Linked DNA regions of Homo sapiens: region 1 is linked to region 2. The links are contacts of gene promoters, found by promoter capture Hi-C in human tissues and cell types (Jung and others, 2019). All regions are on one chromosome and are shown on one strand. The core of a region is centred on a gene start or on the middle of the fragment in contact, and the rest is flanking DNA. Distances in the headings are between cores, read along the strand shown.

Region 1 (6,021 bases), core at 53-2,552, 210 kb before region 2:
CTCACGATCCTCTCCCTCCCTCTCTCCCTTTCTCTCCCTCTCTCTCCCTCTCTCTCTCTCTCTCTTTCGCTCTCAGGTTCGGGAAGGGGTGGCACTCGGCAGGCGGGGCCCCGAGCCGGGTCCCAGGCCAGGGAATCCTGTCATCCAGCACAAATCCTTGGGAGAAATCTTTGGTATCAGGCGTGATTTTCCAATCACAGACATGAGCTTGAGTGAGGTAGCCTTTACCTGGGGGAGGGGAGGGGCATTTCACTAGAAATGTCTTTTGCATTTTCAAGGGGGGTAGGGGGGCCGCCTCCTCCCTGGGAGGCAGCCGATGAGTGGGGGGATTTCAGGGAGGAGGTTCCTTCTAGACTCGGATCTTGAACCCCCGGAGGAGGCGGGCTCCTGGGATCCCGCGGCCGGCCAGTCTCGGAGGTCACCCAGACCAGATGAGAGGAGCGGGGGAGAGCGCGGGGTGGGAGGGGGGCGCTCATCTTCATTTCCGACCCTTCCCATTTGTAAATATTTTTGGCAAAAAATGGAGCAAGCGGAATCCACCTTCCTCGGCGTCTTCTCTCTTTGGCGAGAGTGGAAACCAACACCACGTTCAACCCCGCTGCCCCCCTGCAAGCCCAGTTCAGACCCTGACGCGGGCGGAAAGGGGGGCGGTGGATTCCAGAAGGTTCCACGCAGGAAGCGTCTCCACGGGCCCGTGCAGAGGGGCTCCTCCGGGCGGCCCCAGCGGCGCCTTCTCCGGCCGGGTCCCCTTCTCCTGGGAGCCTGGGCGTGGTCTCCCGTGTCCGGAGCTGCGTCCTTCCTTGCGCTCCACGAAGGTGCCTAAAGGTAAAGTGAACTCAACAGACGGGGCGGGGCGGGGGCGTCTGGAATTTACCCGCACGTGGGAGCCCCCCGTCCCCTGCGGCCTGGGATGGGGTGGGAAGGGTGCTCGCCCGTAGGTGCTGGGCGCCCGCCGCAGGCCCCTCCCCAGACTTTAAGGCAGGCGATTCTTGGCACGAGGAATCCTGGCCGCAGAGAGGGGCAGCTCAGTTCTCGGCCGCAGGGGCCGTCCTGCCAGCGGGTGGGGTTGGTTTTGGAGAGGGTGGGGGACCGTAAGGATCCGGCTTGATGTGGGTTTTTGGCGACTTTGGAAAGGGCTGAGGTCCCTGGGGAGGGGGCCGGGGCGGGTGGGGAGGAAGGAAGTTTTCTACTACCTCCCTCGGTGGGGCAGGGGATCTGACGGAGGAGGGGTTATTCTTTAAAATTCCATTTTTAAATACCCGGTTTATATTTCTAGTATGTGCTTCTTGACCCGCTTTAGGGGACAACACAGTGAGCCCTGGTTTTTCTCGAGGCCCTCTGGGCGTCCTGAATGGAGAGGGGGCTGGGAAACCCCTTTCTGTCACTCCCTCCCCTCCGGGGGGGGGTGGAGGGCTTCCTTTGGCCTGGAGGGAGTGGGCATGGAGGGAGGAAGGGGGGCCCTTTTTGTGCACTTGGGCTGGGGGGTGTGCTGCTTCCCCCTCCCCGGGTGTGGGGGGCCCGGATAGCACCCCCTCCAGGTGCCCCCTGGGGGCGGGTCTCCGGGCCGGCAGGATGTGGGGAGGTGACGTGGGGGCACAGCGCCCAGGCCGTGGAGGCAGGGAGGGCGCGGGGCCGGGGCGCCTCAGGCCTTGGAGAAAGTGGCCGTGGCGCCGGCGGGGCCCCCGGGGGCCGTGCTGGGCTCCTCAGCCCAGCGGTTCATGCAGCGGCGCCGCGCGTTCATGAAGAAGTTGCTGACGGTGTTGAGCTCCAAGCCGAGCTGCTGCGAGATGGTGACCTGCATCTCCTTGGACGGCCGCTTGTTCTCCTTGAAGATGGCGATCAGCGTGCGTCGCTGCAGGTCGGTGAACACCAGGCGCTGCTTCTTGGGCTGCAGGGCGCGCTCCTTCTGCTGCTCCTGTTCCTTGCGCTTGCAGGCTGCGGGCGAGCGGCGGGCGGGCGGGCGAGCGGGACACAGCGCCACCGTGTGGCCGGCCGGGGAGAGGCAGGAGGCGCACGCCGCCCGGAGGATGAGGAGGAGGGGAGAAGGGACACGTTGGGGAAAGGCGAATGCACATAAGGTCCCAGGGAGAGCCCAGAAGCAACAAGAATGCAGGGAGAGGCGGAGGGGGAGACAGCGGGGAACACAGGGACGCACAGAGACAGAGACAGGGAAACAGCAAGGTCAACAGGGAGACAACAGGAAAGTCCAGGATGCAGCCAGAGGGCGGTGGAGACAGAATGGAAGGCGAGGACAGGCAGGGAAAGCAGATGCGGTGGGGGTGGGGGGAGGACAAAGAAGGGGACACAGTGTGAGTGCCCCTCTGCAGGCATGGCTACCACCCCCTCCAGCCCCCTTCTCCATGGAGCCCACTCAGGCACCCCCCAAGCCTCATACCCCCCAAACCCCGTCCTACCCTCAAACGCTCCCTACCTAAAGGACCACAGAAATTGATATTGGTAACTTTCTCCTCTCCTTTCTGCAGCCCCAACCTGGGGGTGTTGGGGAAATGACATGGAAACTGCACATGAGAGTTTTTGGCTCAGTGTAGACTTGGGTGAAATAACTGGTTAATTACTAGGTCCTGGGGTGCATCACAAAACCCAGCAGCCTTCCCCAGAAATGGTGGGCTAACCAGGGCCTTTCCTTTCTTTCTTTTCTTTTTTTTTTTTGCGGAGGGGAAGTCTTGCTATGTTGCCCAGGCTGGTCTCGAACGCCTGGCCTCAAGTGATCCTCTGGCCTCAGCCTCCCAAAGCACTGGGATTACAGGTGTGTGCCATGGCAACTGGCTGTGACAACCAAGCTCTACGAATGAGCAGCAGCGACACTCCTGTAAGGCCTGATACCCTTAGGGACCCTGTGAGTCCACAGCCCAATTCCGACATCTGAATCCCTGCCTCCTGCTCCTGCCCCTATCCACAGGCTGAGACCACCCAGACTTGGCCTCCCTCGAGCACCCAGTGGACCCTCTGGAGCGCAGAACATCTAAGAAAGAAGACTTTGGAGGAGGAGGGGAGAGTGCAGGGACCACCTCTTCCTCTCCCAGATGAGCAGGTCACCCTTCCTCTTGGTCAGCCCGCACAGATCACGGAGAGGGCTGAAGGAGGCTGCCCCATGGCCTGCAGACCAGACACTTGCAAAGGGGAGAAAAGCAAAGGCTCGGGGTGATGGGGCAGGGCTGAAGCCGAGTCCTGCTCTTCCTGCTCCAGCAGCGAAGTGAACCCCTCCCCTCAATGCAGTGGGTGTCAGTGGGTACAAAACACAGGCTTCCCCCACTAGGAGCTGGGCCACAAGTCAGATGGGCTCATTTGTGGCATCAGCTTGAAACTCCATCAGAATCTCAATTTCTCTCCTGCATCCAGACTGGGACTGTGGTGCTGAAGAGGCTGTCCTGCCCTTGTCTCCATCCCGGAGTTCCAGCTACTCTGTGACCCCCAGAAGTGGCCGGTGGTGCAGGTAGTACTAGTGGGTCTCTGCTCCCAGTCTCTTCTCTGTGCCAGCCGTCGTGGCCTACTGGAATGGCACAGAGAGCTTTTCTTTTCGTTGCAGAACAGCCTGGAACATGACATGCTAGATCAATGTCCATACACGTCCACAGAAATAAATGAATGTTCCTTCTGCCATGACTCATGTCTCGGGGACAACAGGTTCACCCGTCTAGGGTGTGAGCTGACGCACACTTCACTCCCTCTGACCTGGAATGTGTGGGGCTTCTAACTGCGGTTTCAGGTTTTATGATTAAATGCAAGTGATGCCTGTGGGTTACTGCACATTTTAGAAAAGCGTCTAACATGAAAAAGAGAGGGAGAGAGAGAGAGGGAGGGAGGCAGGAGGGGGGAGAACAATGGAGAAAAATGGTTTGGTGGGGGAGGAATAAACTCAGAAGGAACCGACAAGGCAGGCAAAGCTATAATTAATATTCCCAGAGGAGTAAGAGAAAAATATCGTATCCATGAAACAAGTACAGGATGCTGTTAAGTAAAAGGGACCATTAGAGAGTGAGGAAATGCTCTTAAAATGTGAATATATAACAGCCAGAGTAAAATAATTCCATGTAAGGACTGGAAGATAAAGTTAAGCAGATATTGGCCGGGCGCGGTGGCTCACGCCTGTAATCCCAGCACTTTGGGAGGCCGAGGCGGGCGGATCACGAGGTCAGGAGATCAAGACCATCCTGGCTAACACGGTGAAACCCTGTCTCTACTAAAAAAAAAAAAAAAAAAAAAAAATTAGCTGGACGTGGTGGTGCATGCCTGTAATCCCAGCTACTCGGGAGGCTGAGGCAGGAGAATTGCTTGAATCTGGGAGGCAGAAGTTGTGGTGAGCCAAGATCGTGCCATTGCATTTCAGCCTGGGCAACAAGAGTGAAACTCCATCTCAAAAAAAAAAAAAAAAAAAAAAAAGAGTAAAGCAGATATCCCAGAAAATGGAACACAAGCAGCTGCAAAGATGGGAAATGAAAGAGAATAAAAAGTTAGAGGATGAATTAAGATGAAGCAGGGTTGTCACCTGATCAAGAGACAGTTCAAAAATAGAGGAAGAGATGATCAAATAATGAAAAAAAATCTAGCGTTGAAAGATGAGTTTCCAGTTTAAATGTGGTCAGGTGCAGTGGCTCATGCCTGTAATCTCAGCATTTTGGGAGGCTGAGGCAGGAGGAACACTTGAGGCTGGGGGTTCAAGGCTACAGTGAGCATGATCTCACCACTGCACTCCAGCCTGGGTGACAGAGTAAGACTCTCTTTTAAAATAAATAATTTTTAAATATAAATAGGCCCACTGGGCATGGTGGCTCATTCTTGTAATCCCAGCACTTTGGGAGGCCAAGGTAGGTGGATCGCTTGAGGTCAGGAGTTCGAGACCAGCCTGGTCAACATGATGAAACTCTGTCTCCACAAAAAATACAAAAAAAATTAGCTGAGTGTGGTGGCAGGTGCTTGGAATCCCAGCTACTGGGGAGGCTGAGGCAGGAGAGTCGCTTGAACCCAGTAAGCAGAGGTGTGAGCTGAGATCACACCACTCACTCCAGCCTGGGCAACAGAGCGAGACTCCGTCTCAAAAATAAATAAATAAATAAATAAATAAATAAATAAATAAATAATAACTAAATAGGCTGGATGAAGTGGCTCATGCCTCTAATCCCAGCACTTTGGGAGGCTGAGGTGGGAGGATCACTTGAGCCCAAGAGGTTGAGAGCAGCTTGGAGAATATAGTGAGACCCCATTGCTACAAAAAATTTAAAATTAGCCAGGCATGGTGACTCACACCTGTGGTCCCAGTTATTCAGGATGCTGAGGTAGGAGGATCATTTGAGCCCAGAAGGTCAAGGCTGCAGTGAGTTATGATCATGATACTGCACTCCAGCCTGGATGACAGAGCGAGACCCCAGCTCTAAAAAAATGGGGGTGGGACATCAAGTCCTCAGCTCATTGAATGAAAAAGACACTCAAGCCTCGTTGTTGTGAAATTTCAGAGCACCAAGAATAAAGAGAAAATCCTAAAAAGCGCCTAGAGGAAAGCCAGATGTCATGCAAAGGATCAAGAATCCAAGCAGCTTTGGGTGTGCAAAAACTAGCAGACAACAGAGCAAGGCTTTCAAAGTTCCAAGGAAAAGTTATTTTCAGCTAGAATTGCTAAATAACAAAAGACCAAACATGAAGGTGCAATAAAGATATAATCGGATGTTCAAGGACTCCAAAACTTAACTTCCCACATACCCTTTCTCAGAAAGCTACTGGAGGATGTGTTCCATTCAAACGAGGAGGTAAATAAAAAAAGGATGGTGTGGGATTCAGAAAATGTGATCCAACCTAGCTGAAAGAGAAAAGGGGTCCTCCAAATCAGGATGAGGGGGACCCTGGAAGACAGCTAGACAAAAGGACCCAGGGTATGGAGGGCAGCCCCACCCAGATCAGAGATGACCTAATATGTGTGGAAAGTCCTATTGAGTTGGTTTTAAATTTTGTTGGGGAGCGTGGGAAGAATTTTTGTTTGGCAGCTATCAACTCCTGGAAAACCAAAGA
Region 2 (5,809 bases), core at 1,011-3,510:
GACTCTGTCCGAAAAAGAAAGAAAAGGAAAGGAGAGGAGAGGGGAGGGGAGCAGAGAAGGAAGGGAGAATCCTGGTTGATACGGTGAAACCCTGTCTCTACAAAAAATACAAAAAATTAGCTGGGTGTGGCGTCAGGCACCTGTAGTCCCAGCCACTCGGGAGGCTGAGACAGGAGAATGGCGTGAACCCAGAGGCGGAGCTTGCAGTGAGCCAAGACTGCACCACTGCACTCCAACCTGGGTGACAGAGCGAGACTCCGTCTAAAAAAAAAAAAAGAAAGAAAGAAGGAAGGAAGGAAGGAAGGGAGAGAAAAGAAGAAATGAAGAACGAAATAAAGGATGAAAGAAAAGGAAGGAAGCAAGGAAGGAAGGAGAAGAAAGAAAAGAAAGAAGGAAAGAAAGACAGAAAAAAGAAAAGGAAGAGAAAGAAAAAAAGGAAAGAAAGAAAAGGAAAAGAAAAAAGAGAAAGAAAGGAAAGAGAAAGAAAGAAAAAGAAAAGAAAGAAAGGAAGAAAGAAAGAAAAAAAGGAAAGAAAGAGAAAAAAAGAAAGAGAGAAAGAAAGAGAGATAGAAAAACAATTCCAAGCATGGGCGTGCACGAAAGAGAAGTCCAGGACCCCAGGAGGGGAAGTGGGGCTGGATGCAGCCTGGGGTCAGGAGAGAGATTTTGGGTGGGGAAGGGCTCCAGGCAGGGGGATCCTGACCCTGCCTGCCTGGAAGAAGTGGGCAGAGAAGCCACCAAAAGTGAAGGGCCCAGCAGTGGGTGGCTGTGGCTGAGGGACTAGAAGAGTGGCTGAGGGGGACCCAGGGTGTGTGAGGCGGGGGGAGGGGACAGAGGAGAAGCCTTGCTAGGCAAAGGGGCAGGCTGCCCCACTCCTGCCCAGAGAGCCCTGCCTTCGGTCCAAGTTTGCACAGCCAGCCAGGGACAGGTCTGGTAGAAGAGGGGGGCAGGTAGACCCAGCCAGACAGGTTTATCACAAAAAACCCCACAGGTGCAAGGAAGGCCCCGAAGGACAGCTGGAGGAAGAGCCGCTGGGAAAGCGGCTATTTTTTTTTTTTTTTTTTTTTTTTGAGAGGAGTCTTGCTCTGTCAACCAGGCTGGAGTGCAGTGGTGCAATCTCGACTCACTGCAACCACCACCTCCAGGGTTCAAGCAATTATCCTGCCTCAGCTTCCTGAGTAGCTGGGATTACAGGTGCGCGCCACCACGCCTGGCTAATTTTTGTATTTTTAGTAGAGTCGGGGGTTTCACCATGTTGGCCAGGCTGGTCTCTAACTCCTGACCTCGTGATCCACCCGCCTCGGCCTCCCAAACTGCTGGGATGACAGGCATGAGCCACCGCGCCCGGCAAGGGTGGCTTTAGAGGTGGACAACGCCCGTTGCGGGGAAAGGCACCCCAGAAGAGGGTGGGGCTCCACATGGAGGGTTCTGGCTGGTGTGAGCCTGCCCTCGCCATGGAAGCACCACTGTGGTAGAGAGGTCTCTGGCTGGGGGCACAGAGACCGGGTCTGTGGCCTTGGGTGGGGCGGAGGAGGTGGCGTGGAGGAGGTGGCCTGATCCCAAAGCCGGGAGCCAGCCAGAGGGGAGCTAGGAGAGACTAGGGGAGAGGGACCTCAGGCCCTGGGGTGTGCATGATTGTGGAGCTGTCCCTGGCACAGAGGCTGGGGGTGGGGCAGGGGCCTGACCCTAAAGCCCACCTGATAGCAAGGGGTACTTGGGGACTGGGACCCCAGGCCCTGGGGGGTGCACCGTGGGGCGGGGGTTGGACCCTGGCACAGAGGCGGTGGGCGGGCAGGAGCCTGACTTCGAAGTCCAGTGGGATCGCGAGGGGGACTTGGAGAGGACCCCACGCCTTTATGCAGGGAGGTGGGGGTCCCTGGCACAAGGAAGCGGGCGTGGAGCAAGAGACCTCGCTTGGGGGCGACCCGGATCTCTAGGGGAAATTGGGGAGCGGGACCTCGGGCCCTGGGGCGCGCGAGGCAGGGACTCTCAGGCTTGGGGAGGGAGCGCTGTCCAGGCAGGGGCTGAGCCGCACACACCTGCAGCAGCGCCCGCACGTGCGGATGCGCCCGGGTTCCCGCCCGAGCGCCGGGCGGAGGCGGGGCCTGGACCACGTGCCCGGCGCCGGCCCCGCCCCGGCCCCGCCCCGCGCGCCTGCGCCCTGGGGGCCGCCCATTGTTGGGCCGCGGCGTGACGTCGCGGGGGCGGGGCCGGGGCGGGGCCGCGGGAGGCGGCGGGAGGGAAGGAGCGTCCCGCGCCGCCGCCGCCGCCTCGGCCGCCGAGGAGCCGCCGCCGCCGTCGCCGCCGCCGCCGAGCCGCAGCCAGAGTCGCTGCCGCCGCCCGGCCCGGCCCGGCCCGGCCCCGAGCAGCCCCGCGCCGCCGCCGCCCCGCCCGCCCGGCCCCCCGTGCCCGCCCCCGCCGCTGGATGCAGGCGGCCGGCGGCCCAGCTCGCAGAGGCGGAGGGCGGCGCGGGCGGCGGCGGCGGCGCGGGCGGCAGGAGCGCGGGCCCCAGCGCTAGCTCCCGCCATGCCCAGCTCGCTCGGCCAGCCCGACGGCGGCGGGGGCGGGGGCGGCGGCGGCGGCGGCGTGGGGGCGGCGGGGGAGGACCCCGGACCCGGACCTGCGCCCCCGCCCGAGGGCGCCCAGGAGGCCGCGCCCGCGCCCCGGCCGCCGCCCGAACCCGACGACGCGGCCGCCGCGCTCCGCCTGGCGCTGGACCAGCTGTCGGCGCTCGGGCTGGGGGGCGCTGGCGACACGGACGAGGAGGGGGCGGCCGGGGACGGCGCAGCGGCGGCGGGGGGCGCGGACGGCGGGGCGGCTCCGGAGCCTGTGCCCCCCGACGGACCTGAGGCCGGCGCGCCCCCGACCCTGGCCCCCGCCGTGGCCCCCGGGTCGCTGCCGCTGCTGGACCCCAACGCGAGTCCCCCGCCGCCGCCGCCGCCCCGGCCGTCGCCCCCCGACGTGTTCGCGGGCTTCGCGCCCCACCCCGCGGCCCTGGGGCCCCCGACGCTGCTGGCCGACCAGATGAGCGTGATCGGCAGCCGCAAGAAAAGCGTCAACATGACCGAGTGCGTCCCGGTGCCCAGCTCCGAGCACGTCGCCGAGATCGTGGGTCGCCAGGGTGAGTGGCCCTCGTCGGGGGTTGCTGTCCTGGGGGTCCCCGCACCGTCCGCCCCGGGGAAGGGGGTCGCCCGAGCCCAGCCCAGCCCGCGCCGGACGCCCCGCACCGGACACGCCCCGCGTGGGCTCCGGCCTCGGCCGCTGCCTTTGCGCCTTTGTCCTGCAGCCGCCGCGGGAGAAAGTTGGGCGCAGCCCGCGCTCCTCCCCTGCGCGCTCCGGCCCCGCCGCCGCCTTTGTCTGGGCCGCCTCCAGCCCGGAAAGGCTCCGGGGAGCCGCGCCGCAGCCCAGGCCCTCGGCCGCCCGCAGGGGCACCCCAGAGAGGGGCTCGAGGGCCCGGGGCTCCGGCCGGGCGGGGGGCGCCCCACACCCAGCACAGGCGGCGGGGCGGGGCAAGCGCAGGTTTAGGGGTGGCTTAGGGGGGCCGCCTGCAGGACCGGGAGAGAAGGCTGACAGTACAAAGAGCGCACGTCTCAGTCTCCAGCCTGGGGCCCTGACTGGGGTGGGGACGGGACCGGGCAGGAGAGGGTCCCTGCTCCACTCTCTGGCCCCGAGTCAGGGATTTCGGGGCCTGGGGAAGGACCGGCTGTCAAAGCCACTTCTGGGGTGCAGCCTGCTGGGCAGGCCGGCGGGCGGCAGGCCCCGGGTGTGGGGTCCAGCGGTGGCATCGTCGGAGCTTCCCTCTGGCCGCCCCATTGTTCTCTTTGTTAGAGAGCGAGGCTGAGATTTGCAGGGTGACATCAGGCCGGCCGCTGCTCATTGGCCCCCGAGCTGCGGGGCGGGCGGGCGGGTGGTGGGCAGTGCCTGGCCCAGCTCACACCCACCACCCCGTTAGCCACCCGCCCGCCTGCCTCCCTCAACTTTCTCCTGCCTTCCCGCCACCCCTCCCCGCTCCTGGGTCCCCGCTGACCGCCAGTGATCAGCCAGGTTCTAGAACTTGGGGTGGGGCCTTGGCGGGGCTGGTGGTGGGGCCGCAGGACACTTGGGCTGGGGGTCCCTGCCTCCCCGGGGCCCTCGGGAATCCAGGCCAGAGAAAGGTGTGGGGGGCTGGGATTGCAAGGTCATCTATGGCCCTGGCCTCAGGCGGGGGACCACCAGGGCGCCCTCCCCTCCGCCCTTTCCCTCGGTCCAGGTGGGTGGGGCACCACAGCCTCCTGTCTTTTGGTCGTTCATTTGTCCAGCTCATGTGGGGACCCACGGAGGGTCAGGCATGGTGCTGGCCCCAGGAAGCATGCTCTGGAGTGGTGGGTGGGGAGGGACTGGGTTCTGTCTCAGTCCTGCTGGCTGCCCTTGGTGGGACCCCCTGGCAGGAGGGCGCCCTACCATCCTGTTACTGCCTCCCCATTGAGGCCTTCCACCCGGCCTCCATGTCCCATACCCAGGGCCTAGAACGGGACAGCTGCCCTGTGCGGAGTGTCTGGGAGCCTGTGGAGACAGGCGTCCAAGCCGAGGCCTGGGGACCAAGTGACCAAAGGCACGAGCCTGAGCCTCCAGGTGGTGGAGGCTGTGGCTGTGTTCTTTGTGAACGCGCTTGTCCTGGCACCCAAGGGCCTTTGAGCGAGGCTATGGCCACATGGGGAGCTGGCAGGAATCAGCGTCAGGCTGAGAGCTTCTAGACCTGTGGCCTCAGGGTGGGAATTCTCTAGGGGCAGGTCCATGGGAAATGGAGTCTGTGGGCACCAGGCTCAGCCCCCACCTCTGGCCTGTGCGTTCTGCACCCACTTACTGGGCTCTTGCTGGTGGCCGTCAGCAAGGCAGGCCCTGGGGTACAGTGGGGGTCGGGGGTAGAGTGGGCCCTGATTGCTTGTCCTGCAGGCCGCCGTGGCCCTGCGCAGATGACGGCCCCTCTCTGTGATGTGCGGACGTCTCACCTCCATTAGGGTAGAGGATTCTGGGGCAAGATGCTGGTTTTATTTATTTATTTATGAGACGGAGTTTCGCTCTGTCGCCCAGGCTGGAGTGCAGTGACGTGATCTGGGCTCACTGCAAACTCCGCCTTCTGGTTTCAAGCAGTTCTCCTGCCTCAGCCTCCTGAGTAGCTGGGATTACAAGTGTGAGCCACCACGCTCAGCTGATTTTTGTATTTTTAGTAGAGACGGGGTTTCACCATGTTGTCCAGGCTGGTCTCGAACTCCCGACCTCAAGTGATCCGCCCACCTCCACCTCCCAAAGTGCTGAGATTACAGGCGTGAGCCACTGCGCACGGCCAGTTTTATTTATTTGTTTTTATTATAAAGTTTTTCTTGTAGAGACAGGGTCTTGCTCTGTTGCTCAGGCTGGTCTTGAACTCCTGGCCTCAAGCGATCCTCAGCCACCCAAAGTGCTGGGGTTCCTACAGGTGTGAGCCACTATGCCTGGACCCAAGTTGCTGGTTTTAATCCCAGCTCCAGGTCACACACAGTGGCCACCCCATAAGTGGAGTGCGCGTTGCCAGGGATGCAACTGTGGATGCCAGGACAGGTTGGCAGCTTCAGTAGTCCTTACGTCTTCCACAGCTTCGGTAGTCTGTACTTCTTCCACACTGTAGAACCATCTGTGGCTCCCAGCTTCTCCCACCCACCCCGTTCTCAAGCATACCTTTCAATGTCCTTTGTGCCCCGGCCCTGCCCCTTTACTCACCTTCCTCTCCACCCTGGGGCTCTCTGAACTTCTCATGCTTCTCTGTCAAACCCAAGCTCCAAGGTTACCCCTT

Evidence for each region. The method cuts DNA at HindIII sites, captures the fragments that hold promoters and counts their contacts. A contact is called where the count stands out against the background at its distance.
Region 1: a fragment that was not itself captured here is called in contact with the fragment with the promoter of MEX3D in region 2 in 3 of the 25 tissues and cell types used here (IMR-90 fibroblasts, liver and lymphoblastoid cells).

What each region holds. Positions count from the first base shown.
Region 1 is chr19:1,771,067-1,777,087 of GRCh38, reverse strand. It overlaps ONECUT3 (one cut homeobox 3), which reads right to left. Exons shown (of 2, transcript NM_001080488.2): 2 at 1-1,935. The coding sequence ends at 1,643. LOC101928543 (a long non-coding RNA gene) reads left to right here and starts at 2,738. Exons shown (of 5, transcript XR_007067085.1): 1 at 2,738-2,830; 2 at 2,921-3,052; 3 at 3,361-3,454; 4 at 3,548-3,645. The HindIII fragment of the contact is 5,328 bases long and covers 1-3,966 here.
Region 2 is chr19:1,564,776-1,570,584 of GRCh38, reverse strand. It overlaps MEX3D (mex-3 RNA binding family member D), which reads left to right and starts at 2,260. Exons shown (of 2, transcript NM_203304.4): 1 at 2,260-3,121. The coding sequence starts at 2,527. It also overlaps the pseudogene RN7SL477P. RefSeq lists silencers at 1,981-2,030, 2,071-2,260. The HindIII fragment of the contact is 18,806 bases long and covers 1-5,809 here.